Linked DNA regions of Homo sapiens: region 2 is linked to region 1. The links are contacts of gene promoters, found by promoter capture Hi-C in human tissues and cell types (Jung and others, 2019). All regions are on one chromosome and are shown on one strand. The core of a region is centred on a gene start or on the middle of the fragment in contact, and the rest is flanking DNA. Distances in the headings are between cores, read along the strand shown.

What was found. The method cuts DNA at HindIII sites, captures the fragments that hold promoters and counts their contacts. A contact is called where the count stands out against the background at its distance.
Region 2: a contact is called between a fragment that was not itself captured here and the fragment with the promoter of ZNF792 in region 1, in 1 of the 25 tissues and cell types used here (liver).

Annotation. Positions count from the first base shown.
Region 1 is chr19:34,962,658-34,965,836 of GRCh38, forward strand. It overlaps ZNF792 (zinc finger protein 792), which reads right to left and starts at 1,572. Exons shown (of 4, transcript NM_175872.5): 1 at 973-1,572. The coding sequence starts at 1,005. LOC124904699 (a long non-coding RNA gene) reads left to right here and starts at 769. Exons shown (of 2, transcript XR_007067236.1): 1 at 769-1,016. RefSeq lists silencers at 914-963, 1,074-1,333. The HindIII fragment of the contact is 10,198 bases long and covers 1-3,179 here.
Region 2 is chr19:34,668,839-34,672,251 of GRCh38, forward strand. The region is part of intron 1 of SCGB2B2 (secretoglobin family 2B member 2); the gene reads right to left. It also overlaps the pseudogene ZNF807P and the pseudogene SCGB1B2P. Among named protein-coding and RNA genes, the nearest start is that of SCGB2B2, 6.6 kb to the right of the region's middle. The HindIII fragment of the contact is 6,284 bases long and covers 1-3,413 here.

The DNA.
Region 1 (3,179 bases), core at 322-2,821:
GGTTGGTTTCCTGGGCAGGTTCTGGGGCAGAGTTCTATTTGTATACATGATCTGGCCATTGTTCGAATGAATATCCAGTCTCTCATTACCTTAACAACTCCCTCAGAACACCCGAACTGTGTGTTCAGCGGCCCACTCTTCAACTCCATTTGGGGGTCTCTGGGACATCACAGGCTCAACTTGGCCAAAACCTAACTTCTACTGCTTCCATGGAAAATTCCTCCTAAAACCAACTTCTCAGTTCATAAAGCTGGATTCATCAAACCAAAAACCATGGATTCTTCCCTCCTCTTTCTCACCCTCCACATCGGAAAATTTGGTCAGCTTGACTTAAAAGACATCAAGTTCCCAATCACTTCCTCTACCTCCAGTCCTCACTCTGGTCCGGCCAGCCGCAGCACTGGCCTGGGCTATTCCATTAGGCTACTCCTTGGCATCCCTGCTTGCGGCTCACTCCATATTCAGTTCTCCACTGTGCATCCACAGGGAGCCTGTTAAGACCTGAGTCACAGCATCTTCCTCCTCTGCCCTAAACCTTCCATGGCTCCCAACACCCTCAGAACAGAGGCCCAGCTCTGCCGTTCTGAGCTGTCTTCAGCCCACCTGCTCTCTGGTTCCAGCAGACATAATATTAATAACACTGACCTGGGTGGGGTTCCTTGAACACTCCCAACTCAGTCTCCACACCGTGCCCCACCCCACCCCCAAGCTTTTGCGCACGCTGGTTCCTGTGCCTACAAAGCCCTTTCTCCCTCCATCCCATTACATTTCAGCAACGGAAGCCACTTTATATAAACCCTGCCCTGATTCAGGATCCTAGCTGGGAGCAACTCCCTTCCAGGGTCCCCTGACTCAAAAGCAAGGAAATGGGAAAGGCGAAAAGTCCTAGAACAAAGCCATCTTTTGCGTCTCAACACCGAGAACAGAAGCGTGGGGGGCCGACAGCGAAGGGCCTAACGTCCAAGCACTCACCTGCGCGGGGTCCCGCAGCGCCGCCGCTGCCATCGGAGTCTGTGGTCAGAGCAGGGCCCCACGGTGCGGGAAACCACGGGGCGGGGGTAGGGGGTCTCGCAGGCTGAGGCTACCACCCACCTGGCCGTGCCCCAGACGAGGTGTGACCCCGGGCTGAGGGTCGCACTCCTAGCCTCAGTCTCCCCCGTGCAAAATGCGCAAGGGGCCCGGGGCGCAGGCTCCGGGGGCGCCGAGAGCGCGCAGCTCCGCTGGGTACCCCCGTTGCAAGGGGTCACGGCTGGTGCAAAGGCGCGGAGGGGGTCCCGGCCTCACTGTCCCCCTCGCGGTCCGGGAAAGCCGGCGGGGCAGCTTCACGGGCGTAGCCCCAGCCGCCCCGCCCCCAACTCGGGGTCCCCAGCTCCTGGGGACTCAGCCTCCCCGCCGGGAAATGACCTGCGAGGCTGCAGTGCAGGAAGTTCCGGCCCCCACCGTGGCGGCCGGGAGAGTTGCCCTCTCCCGTACTGTCATTGGCCTGGCGCCAGCCGCTGGTGCACAGGCAGGGCCTGGGGATCGCGAGTTTCTGCCCAGCCTCTCGTCAGGCTGAGGGTCCAGGGCGGGAAGGAGAGCGGATCTCGTCGGGTCTCCACCGCCGCCGCCTGCAGCCCTCGGGCCTTCCCCTTAAAGGGGCCGCTCCCGAGCCTGCAGCCGCCCGCGCTAAACCCCGCCCACCCTCCGAGGTCCAGGAGGAGAGCCCCAGTGCTCTTCCTGCGCGTGTGGGCATCGGCCAGCCGCTTCACCCCTAAGGGACCTAAATTCACACTGGAAAATGGGGATAGTACCCAATGGGCGGGGTCTTTGCGTTGTAATATTAAATGTCGCTCTGATTCAGGGCTTCTCAAACCAGCAACATCAGCATCACCTGGGGACTGGCTGAAAATGCAGGTTCTGGGGCAACAACTTAAATCTAAGGACTCAGAAATTCTGGGGATGGGATTCAGCCTTCTCTACTTTTTGCGGGGGGGGCGGGGGGGATGGGTCTCGTTCTGTTGTCCAGGCTGGAGTGCAGTGGCCTGATCATAGCTCACTGCAGCCTCCATCTCGGGCTCAAGCTATCCTCCTGCCTCAGCCTACCAGGTAGATGGGATACAGGCGTGCACCATCATACACAGCTAATTTTAAAATTTTTTGTAGAGACTGGATCTCCCTGTGATGCCTAGGCTGGTCTCAAACTCCTGAGCTCAAGTGATCCTCTCACCTCGGCCTCCCAAAGTGTTGGGAATTGCAGGAGTGAGCCATGGTGCCAGGCCTCCTTCTCTGTTTTAACAAGCCCTCTGGGGACTCCAATGCTGGCTCCAACTTTACAGCAGGGACTCTCATTGAAATCCAGTAAATAAAATGGGAAAAATAACACTACATTGTTGCAGGAAGTCAGGGACCCCGAACGGAGGGACCTGCTGAAGCCGTGACAGAAGAACATTAATTGTGAAGATTTCATGGACATTTATTAGTTCCCCAAATTAATACTTTTATAATTTCTTATGCCTGTCTTTACTGCAATCTCTGAACATAAATTGTGAAGATTTCATGGACATGTATCGCTTCCCCAATCAATACTCTTGTGATTTCCTATGCCTGACTTTACTTTAATCTCTTAATCCTGTCATCTTCGTAAGCTGAGGATGTATGTCATCTCAGGACCCTGTGATGATTGCGTTAACTGCACAGATTGTTTGTAGGGCATGTGTGTTTGAACAATATGAAATCTGGGCACCTTAAGAACAGGATAACAGCGATTTTCAGGGAACAAGGGAGATAACCTTAAAGTCTGGCTGCCTGTGGGACGGGCAGGACAGAGCCATATTTCTCCTATTACCAAAAACGGGTAAGAGAAATATCGCTGAATTCTTTCCCCAGTAAGGAATATTAATAATTAACAGCCCTGGGAAAATAATGCATTCCCAGGGCAGTGCCTCTAAAATGGCTGCCCTGGGAGTGTCTGCCTTATGCACATGTAGATAGGGATGAAACACACCCTAGTCTCCTGCAGCGCCCCCAGGCTTGCTAGGATTAGGAAATTCCAGCCTGGCGAACTCTAGTCAGACCAGTTCTCTGCTCTTGAACCCTGTTAAGATGTTTATAAATGACAATGCGTGCACAGCAGGACATGGAAGCTCATGAGTGATTCTAGTTTTGCCCTGACCTTGTGATCTCGCCCTGACCTTCTGCCT
Region 2 (3,413 bases), core at 290-2,789, 290 kb before region 1:
CAGCACCCTGTGGAAACAGACGGCTCGGCTCTCTGTAAAATGGACCAATCACCAGGATGTGGGTGGGGCCAGATAAGAGAGTAAAAGCAGGCTGCCCCAGCCAGCAGTGGCAACCAGCTGGGGTCCCCTTCCACACTGTGGAAGCTTTGTTCTTTTGCTCTTTACAATAAATCTTGCTACTGCTCACTCTTTGGGTCCACACTGCCTTTATGAGCTGTAACACTCACCATGAAAGTCTGCAGCTTCACTCCTGAAGCCAGCGAGACCACGAACCCACCAGGAGGAACTAACAACTCCAGACGCGCCGCCTTAAGAACTGTAACACTCACTGCGAGGGTCCGCGACTTCATTCTTGAAGTCAGTGAGACCAAGAACCCACCAATTCCAGACACAGTAGCATCTCTTCACTGTGTAACATGTGTTCCTAATGCACTTTCTATATCTCACTTCCTTTAGGTTCTGTGTTTTATTCCAGGTAATGTTCCTTGAATCTAAATTACAATTTACTAATTTTCACGAAAGCTGCACCTAATCTGCTACCCATTCAGACAAACAAACTCATTTATCAAATGTTTGTTGAACCGGCACTCGGTGGCAGATTCTGTGCTAGGGCGTGCCAAGTGCAGACACATGTTTGCCAAGACACACCGTTATGCCTCAGGGCCTCCTGGGTGCACATGCACACATGGACCTGCAGGCTGGCACCATAGTGCTCAGCCTGCTCCCAATCCCACGGTGCTCCAGGGAGGACACAGGATGTCACAGCAACACCCAACCCATCCCACTGCATGCTGAGCTTAGTTCCTGATACACTGTCACCCCAAAGGCATGGCCCAGGGCCGTGGGTCTCTCTGCAGACCTGCCCTGCCCCCACTTACACACACACACACACGAAGAGGTGTGTCTCATTTCCACCTGTGGGATTCTAATTTATGGCAGTGACTGAGTGACCACACAGAGAGGCCAATGCGATGGAAAACATTATTATTTACATTTCCCGGGGCACACCATGCCACACAGGGCCACATGGAGAGCACCAGTGCTGGTCAGGAGGCAGGAGCAAGGGGAACCCATAGGCCACAGCCTTTATTGGGGTTCCCATGGGAAAAGCCAGGCAGGGCAGAGTAAACAGCTTATGATTAGCTAGTTTGAATAATCCCGGCAGGCTTTGGCCTATAGTGTTGGTCTCTGGTTACCTGGTACCTGGTCATGGGGTGCTTCAGTGCAGGGGAGATATTGGCGTGGGGTGTGAGAGTTGGATAAAGAGGTAATCGGGGCTATAGATTCAGTGCCAGTTGGTTGTATATGAGACAGGTGCTCCAGGTCGAGCGTTTTGCCATCTCTAAGAAAAGACTAATCCTGGGAGGACAGTCTCCAGAGCCAGCAAACTTTAAAAGATGTCATCATAAAATACAGAAAATAAAAAGCATAATTACACCAAGTCGCAGAGTAAGTGGATGTTTACCTTTTCACAAACTGACTAACTGTGTTCCAAAGTGGTTATACTACTACATTCTTACCACAGTGTTATGAGGATTTCAGGTACTCCATATCCTCACCAACACTTGGTATGGTCAGTCTTTAATTTTCACTATTCCCGTTTGGTGTGCAGTGGTATTTCTCTGCGATTTTACTTTGTATCTCCCTAATAACTAATGTTTACAATTTTTATGTGTACTACTGCCATCCCTCTATCTTCTTTGGTTAGGTGTCTATTCAAATCTTTTGCCCATTTAAACTTTTTTCTTTATTATTGAGTTTTGAGAGTTCTTAATAAATAATGAATACAAGTCCTTCTTCAGATATGTGGTTTGCCAGTATAGTCTTCTAGCCTATGGCTCTTTTCTTCCTTCATCTTAAAAGAGCATGTCGCATAGCAGAAATGTTTACTGTTGACAAAGTTGAATGTGTTATTTTTTTCTTTGATTGAACATGTTTTTGGTGTATATTTCAGAAGTATTTGCCAAGATTTTAAAAATTCTCTCATGTTACTTAATGAAGGTTTCATATATTCAGGTTTATAATCCATGCTGAGTTAGTTCTTGAATATTGTATACCGTGTGAGGTTTGGGATCAGAACTTTGTGGCTGGTTTGTTTGTTTTGAGATGGAGTCTTTCTCTGTCACCCAGGCTGGAGTGCAGTGGTGCAATCTTGGCTCACTTCAACCTCCGCCTCCCGGGTTCAAGCAGTTCTCTGCCTCAGCCTCCCAAGTAGCTGGGATTACAGGCACCACCCCTGGCTAAGTTTTGTATTTTTAGTAGAGATGGGGTTTTAACATTTTGGCCAGGCTGGTCTTGAACTCCTGACCTCATGATACACCCACCTTGGCCTCCCAAAGTGCTGGGATTAAGGGCTGAGCTACTGCAGCTGGCCTGGTTTTTGTTTTAATATGGATGTCCAGTTGTTCCAACAACACTTGTTGAAAACACGATCTTCAGTGAATTGCCTTTGCACCTTTCTAAAACATCATTTGATCTTCTAAGTGTTGGTCTATTTCTGGACTTTCTTAATCTATATTTTTGCTAACATTTTAAAGTCTTAATTAACTTTATAATATGTCTTTAAATCAGGCAATGTAATCGTTTAACTTTATGCATCTTTTTCTTTTTTTTTTGCTATTCTAAGTGCTTTGTATTTTCATATCAATTTTAGAATTCACTTGTTATTTTCTAATAAAAGCATCGTGGGATTTTGATTGGATTGCATTGAATATATGTTTATCAATTTGAGAAGAATTAGCACATTAACAATATTGAGTGTTCTAATCCATAAACATTGTGTATCTCTCCTTTTATTTAGATCTTTAATTTTCCTCAGCAATCTTTTGTAGTTTTCAATGTACATATCTTGCACATCTTATGTGTCTCAAGTATATGTTGTATGCTCTTGTAAAAAGTGCTTTTAAATTTCAGTTTCAAATTGATCATTGTATACAGAAGTATAATTTTTTTAAAAAATTATTATTTACCCTGTAAATTTTATAAATTCATTTATTCCAGATTTTTTTCACAGATTCTATGGGATTTTCTCCATTAATATTTATGTTGTCTAACTTATTTGTTCAATTTTATGTGTTTATTTTCAAACTGGCAACTGTGAAATGTATTGGAAGATTATTCATAAAATTCCTTATTACTGTTTTAGAATCTGTAAAAGCTGGTTGTGGTGGTGCACTCCCATATTCCAAACTACCTTGGAGGCTGAAGCGAGTGAACTGCTTGAGCCCAGGAGTTCAAGACTTCAGTGAGCCATGATGGGGCCAATGCACTCCAGGTGGGGTGTAAAAATAAATAATTAAATGAATAAATGAATAAATAAATAAATAAACTATGTAGTATCTAGTGATGTCATCTCATCTGTAACTTATCGGTAATTTGTTTTTTCTCACATTTTTTTTTTTTGCTAGATCCAC